Linked DNA regions of Homo sapiens: region 2 is linked to region 1. Evidence: promoter capture Hi-C in human tissues and cell types (Jung and others, 2019). All regions are on one chromosome and are shown on one strand. The core of a region is centred on a gene start or on the middle of the fragment in contact, and the rest is flanking DNA. Distances in the headings are between cores, read along the strand shown. Region 1 holds the start of PPP6R3 (protein phosphatase 6 regulatory subunit 3). Region 2 overlaps LOC338694 (a long non-coding RNA gene).

Region 1 (7,469 bases), core at 1,643-4,142:
CATCTTCTCTAGAGTATGGCCAGCCCTTCTTCTGCCCGGAAGCTTTCCTTGGCTCCCATGGTCTGAGCATAAACCCAGGTTCCTCCGCCTGGCTTCCAAAGCCTCCATGGTCCCTTCTGCACCTGCTTCTCGAGCTGTTGCCCCAGACCTGAGATCAGCCCCACCCTGCCTTCCACGGGGTGTGCTCCTTCCACCTTGCTGCCTCGGCCTCTTTCCCTGGCATGGCCGCTCCCGCCCTGCCCAGGTGATCAGCCTGTGAATCCCCTCCCTAACCCCCACACAGAGCACACCTCCCAGGCTGGCTTCCGGCTTGACTATGTTCCTCCATGCCTCTCTGAGTAGCAGGATCAATGTGAGAAAGGTCTGCCCTGTCTGCAGCCTCCCCAGAAGCACAGTACTTTTCGTGGCGCGTACACGGGCTGGTAGATACAGTTGTCCCTCTGTATCCGTGGGAGATTGCTTCTGGGACCCCCAAGGATTCTCAAGTCCCATATATAAAATGGCTTAGTACAGTTAACAACAGAGACGTGTTCTGAGAAATGCATCGTTAGGCAATTTTGTCCTTTGCAAACATCACAGGTATACTTAGCACAAACCCAGATGGTCTAGCCTACTACACACCTGGGCTATATGGGATAGCCTATCGCTCCTAGACTACACATCCATACAGCATGTTACTGTGCTGAATACTGAAAGCAGCTGTAACACAATGGTAAATATTTGTGTATCTAAACATAGAAAAGATCCAGTACAGCTGGGCGCGGTGGCTTACGCCTGTAATCCCAGCACTTTGGGAGGCTAAGGTGGGTGGATCACCTGAGGTCAGGAGTTCAAGACCAGCCTGGTCAACATGGTGAAACCCCCATCTCTACTAAAAATACAAAAATTAGTGGGACATGGTGGCATGCACCTGTAATTACAGCTACTGGGGAGGCTGAGGCAGGGAGAATTGCTTGAACCCAGGAGGCAGAGGTTGCAGTGAGCTGAGATCGCCCCATTGTACTCCAGCCTGGGCGACAGAGCAAGACTCCATCTCAAAAAAAAAAAAAAAAAAAGTCCAGTACAACTACAATATCATAATCTTATGAGACCAGTCTTTTTTGTTTTTATTTATTTATTTATTTTTTGAGACAGAGTTTCGCTCTGTCGTCGAGTCTAGAGTTCAGTGGTGCAATCTCGGCTCACTGCAAGCTCCGCCTTCCGGGTTCACGCCATTCTCCTGCCTCAGCCTCCTGAGTAGCTGGGACTACAGGCGCCCGCCACTGCGCCCGGCTATTTTTTTTTTCTTTTTGTATTTTTAGTAGAGACGGGGTTTCACCGTGTTAGCCAGGATGGTCTCGATCTCCTGACCTCGTGATCCACCCGCCTCCGCCTCCCAAAGTGCTGGGATTACAGGCGTGACCGCGCCGTGACCTCCTGTGGATTTTCATGGGACTCTGAGAGGCGCCTCAAATCCATTTTGGAATAAGGCAGGTTATTAGCATGGGGTCTAACCGTGGGCTGTCTCGGTGTCCTGGGCTGGCTCTTGGGGCGGGGGTCCTGATGTCCGGGACCTCGGTCCTACCTGGGAGGCACAGATATGGCGGGGAACGGGAAGCCCGGGGGAGCATTTAGAAGCTCGTGTGCACAGGGAAACCCTGTCTCTACAAAAAAATTAAATTAGCGGGGCCCAGTGGTGCGTGCCTATGGTCCCAGCTACTCGGGAGGCTGAGGTGGGGGGACTGCTTGAGCCCAGGAGGTGGAGGCTGCAGTGAGTCATGATCACCCCACTGCACTCCAGCCTGGACAACAGAGCAAGACCTTGTCTCAAAAAAGACCCCAGGCCAGGCGCGGTGGCTCACCCCTATAACCCCTGCACTTTGGGAGGCTGAGGTGGGCGGATCACCTGAGGTCAGGAGTTCGAGACCAGCCTGGCCAACATGGTGAAACACCCGTCTCTTCTAAAAATACAAAAATTAGCCGGGCATGGTGGCGTGCACTTGTAATCCCAGCTACACGGGAGGCTGAGACAGAACTGCTTGAACCTGGGAGGCGGAGGTTGCAATGAGCTGAGGTCGCACCACTGCACTCCAGCCTGGGGGACAACAGGGAAACTCCGTCTCAAACAAAACCAAACCCCAAAAGTTCTCGTCTAAGTCCTTCTCCCAGGACAAGGGCACTTATCTCTTGGCGGTGCGTCACAGGTAGGGATATTCCGCGATCCCTCACCTTGACCCCGCTACGAGGACAGCCACCTCTTTCAGGTAAAGAGATCGCAATGGGAAATCATTCTGATAAAAATTCCCCTGTGGAGAATGCAGGCATCGATCCCGTTACCTCTCACATACTAAACGAACGCTCCTCCACTTAAGCTGATTCCCTAGCCCGGCCTAACCTTTGCAGCCGGCGCATATTGTGGCTCACGTCACCACCGGTGTCCCCCGCCGCCCCCGCCCCGCCCGGCCAGCTCGCCACCCTATTGGATCCCTCACGGCTCCGGCTCCACGGCCATGATGGGCTTGGCTCAATTTAGTTTTAAAAAGCATTGGCCACTCGGATTGGTGGTCCGAAGCGTCCGTCAAGCGGAGGACCTGCTGTTGCTACGGCGTAGGGGGTCCCAGCCAGGTTTCTCCCCGTTTCTGATTTGTTTCTCAGGCTCCGGGGTCCTAGAGGTTCCGGATCCGTCAAGTCCATGGGAAAAGAATGCGCCCCTCGCGCTTGACTGACGAGGCTTGCGGGCCAATCGGAATGTAGTCAAAGGAGCCGCTAGGCGATCCAATAGGTAGTAGGGGGCGGGAGAGAGGGGCCAATGAGCCTGGAGCTGGGGGCGGGGGCAGGGCCGCGATTGGCTGAGAGGCGGCCAGAGGGCGGGCGGGGGGGAACTCAAGGCCTGCTTGATACGTCCGCCATTTTGGGCGCTTCGCTGATGGTGTCGGTGAGCGCGTTTCCCGCCTGAGCGCAACTAGCGGCGGGTCGTGGGCACCTCCAGGTAATGGGGGTAGGGGAGGCGCCGGAGCAGGCCGCGGCGCGGGGTGTGCGAGGCGCGCGGGCAGGCGCGGGGCCCCTCCACCTGGCCTCAGCGGCTCAGGGAGGGAACGTCCCGGCCCCTCTCCCCTCCCCCCCCGGAATTCGTCGCTCCGCGGGCCCGGGAGGCGCGGCGCCGAGTCCTTCCCGGCCGCTCCCCGTCCGCTCCTGTTAGCCGGGGGCCCCGCCAGGACGGGCGCCGGGAGCGGGACGCGGTCGGGGCGGCGACTTTGTGCCTCGTTGACGTTCGCGGCCTGGCGCGGCGGGCGGGCGAGGCGCGCCCCTGACCCGGCTCTGGCTCCAGCCTTCCCGCCCGCCGGCCGCGGCCCGCAGTCTCGCCCCCCGCCCGGCCCGCGCCCGGTCTCCGCTCCCGCTGGGCCTCCCGGGGGCCTCGGGGAGCGCGTCAAGTTGAGGCAGCAACTCGCCGTCAAGAGTCGCGAAGACCATTGTTGGACTCTGCTCTTCGGGAAACAAGTTTTGTGGGTTTCTGTTAATTCGCCGCAGAGTCATCGGGATCCACACCAGCCAGTTCCGAGGCTCCCAGTACCCTTCCCAGTGGCTTTTTAACTCCTGTGAGGTGGCTTGTATGTAAACTGTCTCGAATGCCTCCCTGGTGTATTTGAGCCGGGGGTGGGGGGGGTGGGTGGTCCTTCTTGTGGCTTGAAGTCCCTCCCTCTTAAAGAAGCCCATTCACTGTTTACTTGGAGGTGTTTCCTGTTGAGGTCCTGCTGGCTGTGATCACAATTTAGACTTTTTAATTATAGGTGAACGGGATGGGTCTTTGGATGTACCTCCGTGCCCTGACGTTTCAACCGCGTGACTTAATGTCATTTTCCTGGTACTTCACGTTTTCTCTGTGGGGCTTTGGGTCTGTTTTGCTTTTATGGGAGGGGGTGCTTGACAGGCGTTCCCTTTCATCCTCGCAGCACTTGTTGACGGGGTGGTGTCCTTTATTCGTGGGACGTTTACTTTGATTTTGTCCTCAAGGTCATGTTGCAGATAGGCTTCAAGGGGGACAGGGACTCCAGGTTTCCAACCACCGAACTGTGCCTCAAGTAGCAAGTGTATGAGACCCAGTTATGGTGGTGGTTGGGTTTTCCTCACTGTGGAGTGGAGTCAGTGACCACTTTTTAGCTCTGTGACCTTGGGCAAGTTACCCAGCTTCTCTTTTTTTTTCTCTGTAGTATGGGAATAATAATAAGTGTCCCAGCCATAAGTTTGTCAGGATAATTGCCCTAATACATGTAAAACAGCTAGAGCTGTGCCTGGCACATACAGTCACCTCAGTGGCTGATTAGTGGTTAGGCTAGTTAATGGCTATTATTGTTTAATTTAAATTTGATTTTTAAATGTTTAGGTACTATTGGGAAGTCAGATGAGCATTTGAGTCCCGACTCTTGGTGACTGCCTTTAGAAAGCTCTGTGTAAGACTCAGTTGGGCTGAAAAAGTAAAACTATAAGTTATTTTAATTTTTTCAGGACAGGGTTTTTGACCATTCCTTAAATTAGGAACATTTACCGGAGTAATTAATGAGTAGTAGCGCCTCATAATGTTTAAAGAGATGGTTAAATACAGAAAAGCCCATCACAAGCTTAAGTCGGGCTTTGTTCCTCATGTGCTTTTGGATACTAGTTTCTGGGTGACTGCCACCCGAATCAGTAACTAGGGTTTCTTAGTGTAAGTCCTCCTTGTTACTGAAAACTGTAAGGGTGCCGTGGATTGCAGTATTCTTCAGCAAAGATAGTTTGGGAAATAGCTTTTGTCCTGGAGGGATACTTTGGAAGGTATTCTCCACTTCAGCATGTCTGGTCAGGGAGTCTAGAACATTGAACAAAATGCCTGCACTCAGTCAGAAATAAACTCACAATCCTTTACCGCTTGCCCGATACTCTCCTCCATGGTGCTCGAAACCTTGCGTGCACCTTCCCCTGGTATTGTTGTGTTTACTTGGGACTTGGTTTGCTGTATTGGAGATGTGTGTTTTGATGGACTCAGTCTTAAGTAGAGATGAGTATCTTGCTGGTGGAACTTAAGGACAGGAAGAAGATTGTTTTCGGTTTAGAACTCTAGCCTTTGTGTAAAGTATAGCAAAGCAAAGTCAACAAGCAAAAAGTTGTTAGTTTCAATGAACTAATTGAGAATTTGAGAATCAGACCATAGCTGAGCAGAAAATGAATAGAAGTAACATTGACAGGATGAGGTTGCCTAGCTTTTTAAGATAAAGCTTTGGCCGGGCGCAGTGGCTCACGCCTGTAATCCCAGCACTTTGGGAGGCCGAGGCTGGCGGATCACTTAAGGTCAGGAGTTCGAGACCAGGCCAACATGTGAAACCTTGTCTCTATTAAAAATACAAAAATTAGTCGGTCATGGTGGCGTGTGACTGTAATCCCAGTTATTTGGGAGGCTGAGGCAGGAGAATCGCTTAAACCTGGGAGGCGGAGGTTGCAGTGAGCCAAGTCCAGCCTAGGAGACAGAGCGAGACTCAGTCTCAGAAAAAAAAAAAAAAAAAAAAAAGATAGGGCTTTGCACCTATTTGGTAGATTATGTGCTTGTTACAAATAAACATCTCTTTAAAACAAGTGTCACGATCGGTATTTTATTTCTATGACAACTTCCATTGTCTAGTTCTATATTTTCAGTATTTGAGAGGCAGCCTCTGTGTGTGTTTGTGTGTGTGTGTGTTTTGGTCTAAAATTTTACAGTATTTTACTAAATAAGAGTAAATGATAGTGAAAATAAAGCTCTTCTATCTGCTCAACTAAAACTCAGCATTGACTTGGTCCTTAGAAGTTATGGTCTGCACCCCAGTATTGGCTGCTACTTTTTCTAATGTACTGAAAAAAAGATCTGGCCTCTTGGCTTTAAACAGCTTTCATATTTCTTTCCTTTCTTAACTTCAAATGATTGTCTTTTGATTTACTCTAGTTCAAGAGTTCTCAGTTGGGGGTGGTTCCCCCCTCACCCCCCAGGAAACATTTGGCAGTGTCTGGACATATTTTTGCTTGTTACACCTCTGGGAGTGGGCAGTGTGCTTCTGGAGGGTAGAGGCCAAGGATACTGCTAAACATCCTACAGTGTCCAGCATAGCCTCCTCCCTGCCCGCCAGCAAAAGTATCCAGTCCCAAATAGCAACACTGCTGAGGTTGAGAAATCCTGCACTTAGATAGATGTGAGACTGGCCTACATTAGAATAAGCCTGCATTAGAATAATTAGAAATTTTTTAAGACCATGGATGTTGGACTCCACCTCTGGAAATGGTGGGATTGAGAATCTTATTAATTTTTTTTGAGATGAGTCTAGCTCTGTCGCCCAGGCTGGAGTGTGGTGGTGCCATCTCGGCTCACTGCAACCTCTGCCTCCTGGGTTCAAGCAGTTCTCTGCCTCAGCCTCCCTAGTGGCGGGGATTACAGGCACCCGCCACCATGCCCGGCTGTTTTTTGTATTTTTAGTAGAGATGGAGTTTCACATCTTGGCCAGGGTGGTCTTGAACTCCTGACCTCGTGATCTACCCGCCTCGGCCTCCCAAAGTGCTGGGATTACAGGTGTGAGCTACCATGCCCGGCCACGAGAATCTATTTTTTAGAAGCTTCTCAGACAATACTGAAATGCAGCTGAATTTTGGAACCACTGTTTTACACCACAGGTTTAGGGACTGTTTGTGAGTTAAGGGTTCCTTTCGGTGATCTGTGAACTTGGTCTTTGCAGTACCTAGATCCTGCCTTGGAGATTATTTAGTAGTGGGGATTATTTAGATGGTATACTTAACCATTTTTCAGATGCCTGAAGACTGAACTTTAGAAGCATTTGTTAATTGATTTTATAAAATATCTTAGGACTTTTTTTTCTTAACCTCATGAAAATACATTACCATACTGTGCTGAAACTAAGCAAAATTCTTAGATATTTAGAGTTTGCTTCTGTGCTGAATAATCTTACACTACTGTAATTTTTGAGTTAGTATCTTTTGCCCTCCTTTTGTCAGTCAGTGGTCAGGTCTGGTTTTAGATGCCAGCTTCAACTTTTTTTTTTTTTTTTCGGAGACAGTCTCACTATGTCACCCAGGCTGGAGTGCAGTGGCATGATCTTGGCTCACTGCAACCTCCGCCTCCTGGGTTCAAGTGATTCTCCTGCCTTAGCCTCCTGAGTAGCTAGGATTACAGGTGCGTGCCACCACACCTGGCTCATTTTTGTATTTTTAGTAGAGATGGGGTTTCACCATGTGGGCCAGGCTGGTCCCGATCTCCTGACCTCAAGTGATCCGCCCGCCTCGGCCTCCCAAAGTGCTGGGATTACAGGCGTGAGCCACCATGCCTGTTTTTTGTTTTTGTTTTTGTTTTAATAAAGACCTATTCCCAGAGAATTAGCCCTGGATCAGTTTACCAGTTCTGCCCATTGAGGGCACAGATAGGCATACAGTATGCTCAGCCTTTAACACAGTGATCCTGCCCACTGGTAAGTTGGACT
Region 2 (7,469 bases), core at 4,578-7,077, 690 kb after region 1:
TTTATTACTATTATTACTATGTCAATAGTAATAGTAGTGATAGTAAAGTCTCCCCTTGTGTTCCCCTGCTCCCTCTGCCTCCTGACCAACCCTCGTCCTTCCTCATGTAGACTGCATAGCATGGCATGCCCCCTGCTCCTGGGAACTGTAAGTAATAAACTTCTTTTAAGGCAGCTGTCTCCATGTCTGTCATGTTAATGTACCTGATTAAAACAAAATCCCAGGTACATTTAAAAACACCTCTTGGTATTGTATGGTGTCACTATGATGTCCCCAGCTATGGATTGCTTATCACTCATCCTAGGTTGGATTCTTTGGGATGCCCAAATCTGGGGATTGATGTTTTTCATCTGTTCTAAAAACTTCTCAGCCATTTCCCCTTCAGATCTAGCCTTTGCCCTATTCTATTCTCTTCTACTGGAGCTCCTAGGACCATACAGTGTAGCTTTTACTCCACCCCTCATGCCTCTTGGCAGCTCCTTCTTGTCTCCCATTGTCTCTCTGTGCTGTATTCTGGGCCATAGCTCAGATCTGTCTTTCCGTTCACCAACATAATTTTCAGCCATGTCTGACCATCTGTTAGTATCACTTAATATATTTTCATCTCTGGAATTACATTTAGGTCTTTCCAAATCTGCTTGGTCATTTTATAATCTCTTGTTCTTTATGTTTTAAATATTTTCTCTTAATCCTTTAATCATGCTTATTTTATATTATATTCTGATAATTTTGACAGGTCTGGGTCTGATTCTACTTTCTGTTGTTTCTTCTGACAGCAAAAACCTTTTGATAGATTATGTTCATCTAGAGGTTATTCATGCTAACATCTCCAGCTGCACGGTGGAGCTTTATTTTTCTTCTTTTATTTTTGGTTTTCTGTTTTTCTTTCTTTCTTTTCTTTTCTTTTTTTTAAACTCTTAGCATGGTGGAGCTTTATGGCATATTCTGAGCAATGTCCTGGTTTCTATTGCCTTCAGTTGCATTGCCCAATGTGGGACAGGAAATCTCACATACACAACAGCTTCTTGTTTCAGTGCTGCATTGTACTGCAATATTTTTGAAGATTTGATTTAATTTAATTTAATTTTATTTCCCGAGACAGAGTCTTGCTGTGTCACCCAGGGTGGAATGCAGTGGCGCAGTCTCGGCTCATTGCAACCTCCACCTCCTGGGTTCAGACGATTCCCCTGCCTCAGCATCCCGAGTAGCTGAAGTTATTTAAAGTGAAAATTAGGGATTCAAACTTAGGTTATGAGTCAACCACGTGTGGGGACGCAAGGCAAACACCCGGTAGAGGTTGAATAGATTACGGTTTATGCTCAGCTGGGTTCATACAAAAGCAGGGAATGGCAACTTTATTTCTGTCTCCTCCTTTCTGCAGGATCTGAAAATGAGTTTTAATATCTACTAGAAGCTATACTTGATTTCAGAATTATCAAAGTATGAAAAATACATGCCTTAGAACTGAGGACTTATGGGATTCTAAGTGTGCTGTGCCTTGAGGGAACCCCAGTGGCCTTTGATCCCACATGGGCCATCAAATAGCGAGTAATGTCCCTACTTTGAGTGGTCATGTCCATTCTGAAAGGTCCACCAATTCTCAGTATGAGGTCCTCTGAATGTGCTGATGTCTGGTCACACACGGGGGATCAGTCAGGCTGGGCTAAGTCAGTTAGGTGACACATGACCCCATGGCGCAGTAGCTCTCAGCAGCATGGGTGGATTTCTCGGCCATGTTACGCATCCCACCTGGGTCGGCTGAGACTGCTCCATGCACTCTTCACTCCAGGCAGGGCAGCCTCCTTCCTGGAAGGAAAAGGAAGAGGGAAAAGAGAACGTTGCAAACCATGCCCTGGCTTATTTATTTATTTATTTATTTATTTATTTATTTATTTTGAGACAGAGTCTCGCTCTGTCGCCCAGGCTGGAGTGCAGTGGCGTGATCTTGGCTCACTGCTACCTTCTCCTCCCGGGTTCAAGCAATTCTTCTGCCTCAGCCTCCCAAGTAGCTGGGACTACAGGAGCATGTCACCATGCCTGACTAATGGTTTTTGTATTATTAGTTGAGACAGGGTTTCACCCTATTGGCCAGGCTGGTCTCGAACTCCTGACCTCATGATCTGCCTGCCTCAGCCTCCCAAAGTGCTGGGATTACAGGTGTGAGCCACCACACCAGGAAGCGACAGGAGTATTTCCTCCCTTATCTCACTGGCCACTCCTGAGTTCAGTAGGGTGGGGACAGGCAGTCGTCCTGCAGGGCAGGGAAGCCGGGGCATGGGGGAGGAGTGATAGAGCCACCTCCCCTGGCTCAGCATCTTTGCCTGGGGCTCTGCTCAGTGACAGGAGCCTGGGTGTGAACTTTCAAGTCAGGGATCCCAGAGGCAACAGATACGTTCCACCTCTCTGAGCCTCGCATGCTTTACAAGTGCCAGAAATGGACGTTGGATACGGAGGCACCGTGTGAGTTGTCACACCCTCTGTGACTATACAGGTTGTTGGTGTTTTCGTCTTTGTTAATCGCCCAACAGTGCTCACTGCTAAGGAAATGTAACAAAATGTAACGTGACGTTCAGTGTTCAGCGGGACTTGGAAATGTGTTGCACGTGTGTGTGCAAATAGGTTAGAGGTGGGGGCCGGCCACATGTGCTCTGCTTCTCGTCTGCCTTCTTGGAGCGCCCACAGTCATGTGTGTACCTCAGCCCTCAGCGGGTTGGTCAAGCTTGGACTTTGCCTGTGGAACCAATGCAGGGGCTGCTGAGCTCTTCTGATTCTCTCTCGGGAGCCTGGGGCTGGGAGGCCAGCAGCAAAGTGTGGGTGCTGGACTTATTTATGGGTGAGGCTGACAGTGCCTTTAGGCTCAGGCAGAGCAGAGGGAGCCAATGAGCAGAGAGAAAGAGAAGGTGGAAGAAGTCAGGCAGAGAGACCCAGTGCCTTAGAAGGAGAGGTGGCCACTGTGCTTCCTGGTGAGGTTCCAGGGGATGTGCCTGACCTAGCCCCCAGCCGGGGGATGTACCTGGGCTAGCCTCCAGCCACGGGATGGGCCCAAGCTAGCCTCCAACGGGGGTCATGCTGTGTTTGGAATTGGTTTCTTCCGGTGGATTCTTGGTCTCCCTGACTTCAAGAATGAAGCCGCAGACGCTCGCGGTGAGTGTTACAGTTCTTAAAGATAGTGTGTCTGGAGCTTGTTCCTTCAGATGTTCAGATGTGTCCGGAGTTTCTTTCTTCTGGTGGGTTTGTGGTCTTGCTGACTTCAGGAGTGAAGCCACAGATCTTCGCAGTGAGTGTTACAGTTCTTGAAGGTGGCACGTGGGAGTTGGTTGTTCCTCCCAGTGGGTTCATGGTCTCGCTGACTTCAGGAATGAAGCCACAGACCCTCGTGGTGAGTGTTACAGCTCATAAAGGCAGTGTGGACCCAAAGAGTGAGCAGCAGCAAGGTTTATCATGAAGAGCGAAAGAACAAAGCTTCCACAGCATGGAAGGGGACCCGAGTGGGTTGCCGCTGCTGGCTTTGGTGGCCAGCTTTTAGTCCCTTATTTGGCACCCCCACGTCCTGCTGATTGGTCCATTTTACAAAGCACTGATTGGTCCGTTTTTACAGAGTGCTGATTGGTGCAATTACAAACCTTAAGCTAGACACAGAGCACTGATTGGTGCGTTTTTACAGAGTGCTCATTGGTGCATTTACAAACCTTTAGCTAGACACAGAGCGCTGATTGGTGCATTTTTACAGAGTGCTGATTGGTGCATTTACAAACCTTTAGCTAGACAGAAAAGTTCTCCAAGTCCCCACTCGACCCAGGAAGTCCAGCTGGCTTCACCTCTCAATGCCTAGGCTAGCAGCTAGCCACAGGACAAGCCCCAGCTAGTCTGAAGCCAGGGGTCACGCCTGGGCTAGCCTCCAGCCAGAGGATGTGCCAGAGCTAGCCTCCAGCGGGGGTCATGGCTGGGTTAGCCTGAGCAGCCTCCTCTTCCTGGTAAGTGAACACTGTCACCCACTGACAATGGAGTCTCTGGGAGGCTCTGAACACATGTCGCTCAGGGTGGCTGTGAGACCACAGCATTTCTTTCTCTCTCTCTGTTTTTTTTTTTTTTAACTTTTATTTTAAATTCAGGGGTACATGAGCAGGTCTGTTACATAGGTAAACTTGTGTCATGGGGGTTTGTTGTACAGATTATTTCATCACCCAGGTATTAAGCCTAGTACCCATTAGTTATTTTTCCTGATCCTCTCCCTCCTTCCCTCCCATCCTCCAACTTCTAAACGGCCCTAGTGTCTGTTCCCCTCTTTGTGTTCATGTGTTCTCATCATTTAGCTCCCACTTATAAGTGAGAACATGCAGTACTGGGTTTTCTCTTCCTGCATTAGTTTGCTACGGATAATGGCCTATTGCTCCATCCATGTCCCTGCAAGGGATGTGTTGTCATTCCTTTTTATGGCTGTGTAGTATTCCATGATATATATGTGCCACAACTTCTTTCTCCATTGATGGGCATTTAGGTTGATTCCGTGTCTTTGCTATTGTGAATAGTGTTGCAATGAATGTACATGTGCAGGTATCTTTATAATAGAATGATTTATATTCCTTTGAGTATATACCTTGTAATGGGATTGCTGGGTCAAATGGTATTTCTCTCTTTGGTCTTTGAGGAATTGCCACACTGTCTTTCACGATGGTTGAGCTAATTTACACTCACACCAACAGTTTATAAGTGTTCCTTTCTCTCCAGAGCCTCACTAGTATCTGCTGGTTTTTTTTTTTTTTTTTGACTTTTTAATAATAGCCATTCTGATTGGTGTGAGATGGTATCTCATTGTGGTTTTGACTTGCATTTGTCTAATGATCAGTGACGTTCAGCTTTTATTCATATGATTGTTGGCTTCATGTATGTCTTCTTTTGAAAACTGTCTGTTCATGTCCTTTGGCCACTTTTTAATAGGGTTGTTCCTAAGCAAAAAGAAAAAAGCCGGAGGCATCACTCTACTCGGCTTTGAACTATACTACCAGGCTACAGTGACCAAAACAGTATGGTACTGGTACAAAAACAGACACATGGAGCAATGGAACAGAATAGAGAACCCAGAAATAAGACCACACACCTACAATTATCTGATCTTCGACAAAACTGACAAAAAAAGCAATGGGGAAGGATTCTTTATTCAATAAATGGTGCTGGGATAACTGGCTAGCCATATGCAGAACATTAAAACTGGACCCCTTCCTTACACCATATACAAAAATTAACTCAAGAGGGATTAAATACTTAAATGGAAAGCCCCAAACTATAAAAACCCTGGAAGACAACCTAGGCAAGCCTTTCAGGACATAGGCATGGGCAAAGATATCATGATGAAGATGCCAAAAGCAATTGCAACAAAAGCAGAAATTGACAAATGGGATCTACTTAAACTGAAGAGCTTCTGCACAGCAAAAGAAAGTATCAACAGAGTAAACAGACACCCTAGAGAATGGTAGAAAATTTTTGCAAACTATGTATCCGACCAAGGTCTAATATCCAGAATCTATATGGAACTTAAAGGAGACCACAGCCTTTCTAAGGTGACAGGAGATTTTCCTTGTGGCACATACTTGGTGACTACAGGGCACCTCCCAGTAGCTCAGTTCCACTTTCAGAGCCCTGGAGCATCATGGGGTTCTCATGCCCATTGTCCTTGGGCTGGGGTCCTGTTCCAAGGCACACTCCTGCCCACTCTCGCAAAAATCATTTTGTGTGCACATGGCAGGCCTCAAACATGTCTCCCTGTCTTTGTCCCCACTGTTTGCCTTCTTGTTTTATTTAGAAATCAAGAGAGAATCTAGGCTTGGGAAATGGCAGAGATTTCCCCAAGCTTAGCACAATTCTTTTATCTTTTTTTTTTTTAATTTAATACCATTAGGTCATCTCTTTTAAAAGAATTTCTGGGAAAATCTTTATTTTGTGTATTTCTCAAGCATCTTGACATTCCGTCTCAGAGTAATGGCCCAATCACTTCCTCCCAACTCCCCTTCAAATTCCCTGTCGGCTTTATCTCTTGCAAATGGCTCGGTGCTGCAGAGCAAACTCCCCGTCCCCGGCCCCTCCACCCCCCTCTCTGGGGACAAAGAAAGGGCCCCATACTCTCACTGAGGCCTTTGGGCAAACCAGATACATCATCACAGCCTAAGACAAGGAGGAGGCCCGGGACCCTTCAAAGATGCCTGCTCCAGAGTCCGCACACAAACCTCTGCCTATTAACTCTTTCAAAGAACGTTTGTTGGCTGCGAAAGTCGTCTGGGTTCATTGATAAAAAAAAAAAAAAAGATATTGTCTTTAGGGCTGCTGAATATATTAATGAGTTGTCACGGAGGACAGTTAGGATTTGCAAAGGGTGATAGTTACCATTCACCTACTTGTTGCCTTAAAAGATAAAATCATGTGCAAATGAAGACAGAGCTTTCAGGCACCTCCGCCAGAACACACTTCATTTGAGGCGACGGCAGGGATGCTACTAAAACCCCAAAGAGTTAAGCTGAAATGGTTAATATTCCTGTCTCTGCCCGCCTCCTCCTGTATTCTAATGTATGAACCCGCTCATTCAGATGTGAGTGGGACTTGGGGACAGCTTGCCTTCCCTACGCGATTGTGTATGGCCCCCGCTGAAATGTTCCTAAAAACACGATTTTGTAAACGCTTATGCTCCACCAGACATCCAGCGCATCTACTGGATGCCCAGCGTCTACACCAGACGCCCAGCGTCCCGAGTGGGGTTCACTTTGTCTCTTCACACCCAGGGACTCTCAGCCTGAGGTGAGGGAAAGGAAGGGGGGTTATTAAGAATTCTGACAAGGTAGGCTGAATAAATTGTGTTTTCTTTGTGAGCCTTAATCCGGTGTTGTATTGGCTTCTGGACATGGCTAATTTATTTGGAATTTCATTCTGTTCCTGACAGCGTCCTTGACTAGCTGTTTGATCACCCCGAGCAAAGTTACATACCAGCTTTCAACCGTTGGGAGGGCAGCGGCGTCCTTTTTCTCAAGTGCCTTCTCCTGGGTCGGGCTTTATGCCTGCAGCAGGGCGTTTCAAACGGCTGAGGCCATCCCTTGTTAGGGAGAGAAACCTCCCGGGCAGGGGTCTCCCTCAATGAGGAAGCCCTCCACTTCCCCCCACTCGTCCCACTGTTCGTGATTTTAATCTGCTTTTGTGGCGCAGGAAGAAAGAAAATTAATTTTCGCCCGTCTGTGTGTAGGGAGCATTTCAGTGGAAACCCGGTTTGAAATGCATGTTCTGTTGATTTCGGCAGCCTGCGCCGGCTGGGGTTTTGAGATGCAGCATTCTCAGGGGAAGAGGTGATGGGCCACAGGCCTTCGTGGGGTGGGAACTCAGGCTCCCCGTGGGCCCTGGACGGGGTCCTCATGTCCTGTGCTCCGTCTTGGCAGGAGTAAGAGTTGATGATGTTCATGCTCTCCCAACTCACCCATCTCTGCCATGGT

Evidence for each region. The method cuts DNA at HindIII sites, captures the fragments that hold promoters and counts their contacts. A contact is called where the count stands out against the background at its distance.
Region 2: a fragment that was not itself captured here is called in contact with the fragment with the promoter of PPP6R3 in region 1 in 1 of the 25 tissues and cell types used here (dorsolateral prefrontal cortex).

The regions. Positions count from the first base shown.
Region 1 is chr11:68,457,860-68,465,328 of GRCh38, forward strand. PPP6R3 (protein phosphatase 6 regulatory subunit 3) reads left to right here and starts at 2,893. Exons shown (of 24, transcript NM_001164161.2): 1 at 2,893-2,968. RefSeq lists silencers at 2,304-2,453, 2,764-3,133, 3,144-3,193, 3,244-3,353 and an enhancer at 2,564-2,623. The HindIII fragment of the contact is 5,146 bases long and covers 1-4,911 here.
Region 2 is chr11:69,145,935-69,153,403 of GRCh38, forward strand. It overlaps LOC338694 (a long non-coding RNA gene), which reads right to left. Exons shown (of 3, transcript NR_104161.1): 3 at 1,294-1,806. Among named protein-coding and RNA genes, the nearest start is that of SMIM38, 6.3 kb to the right of the region's middle. RefSeq lists an enhancer at 2,777-3,276. The HindIII fragment of the contact is 5,475 bases long and covers 3,091-7,469 here.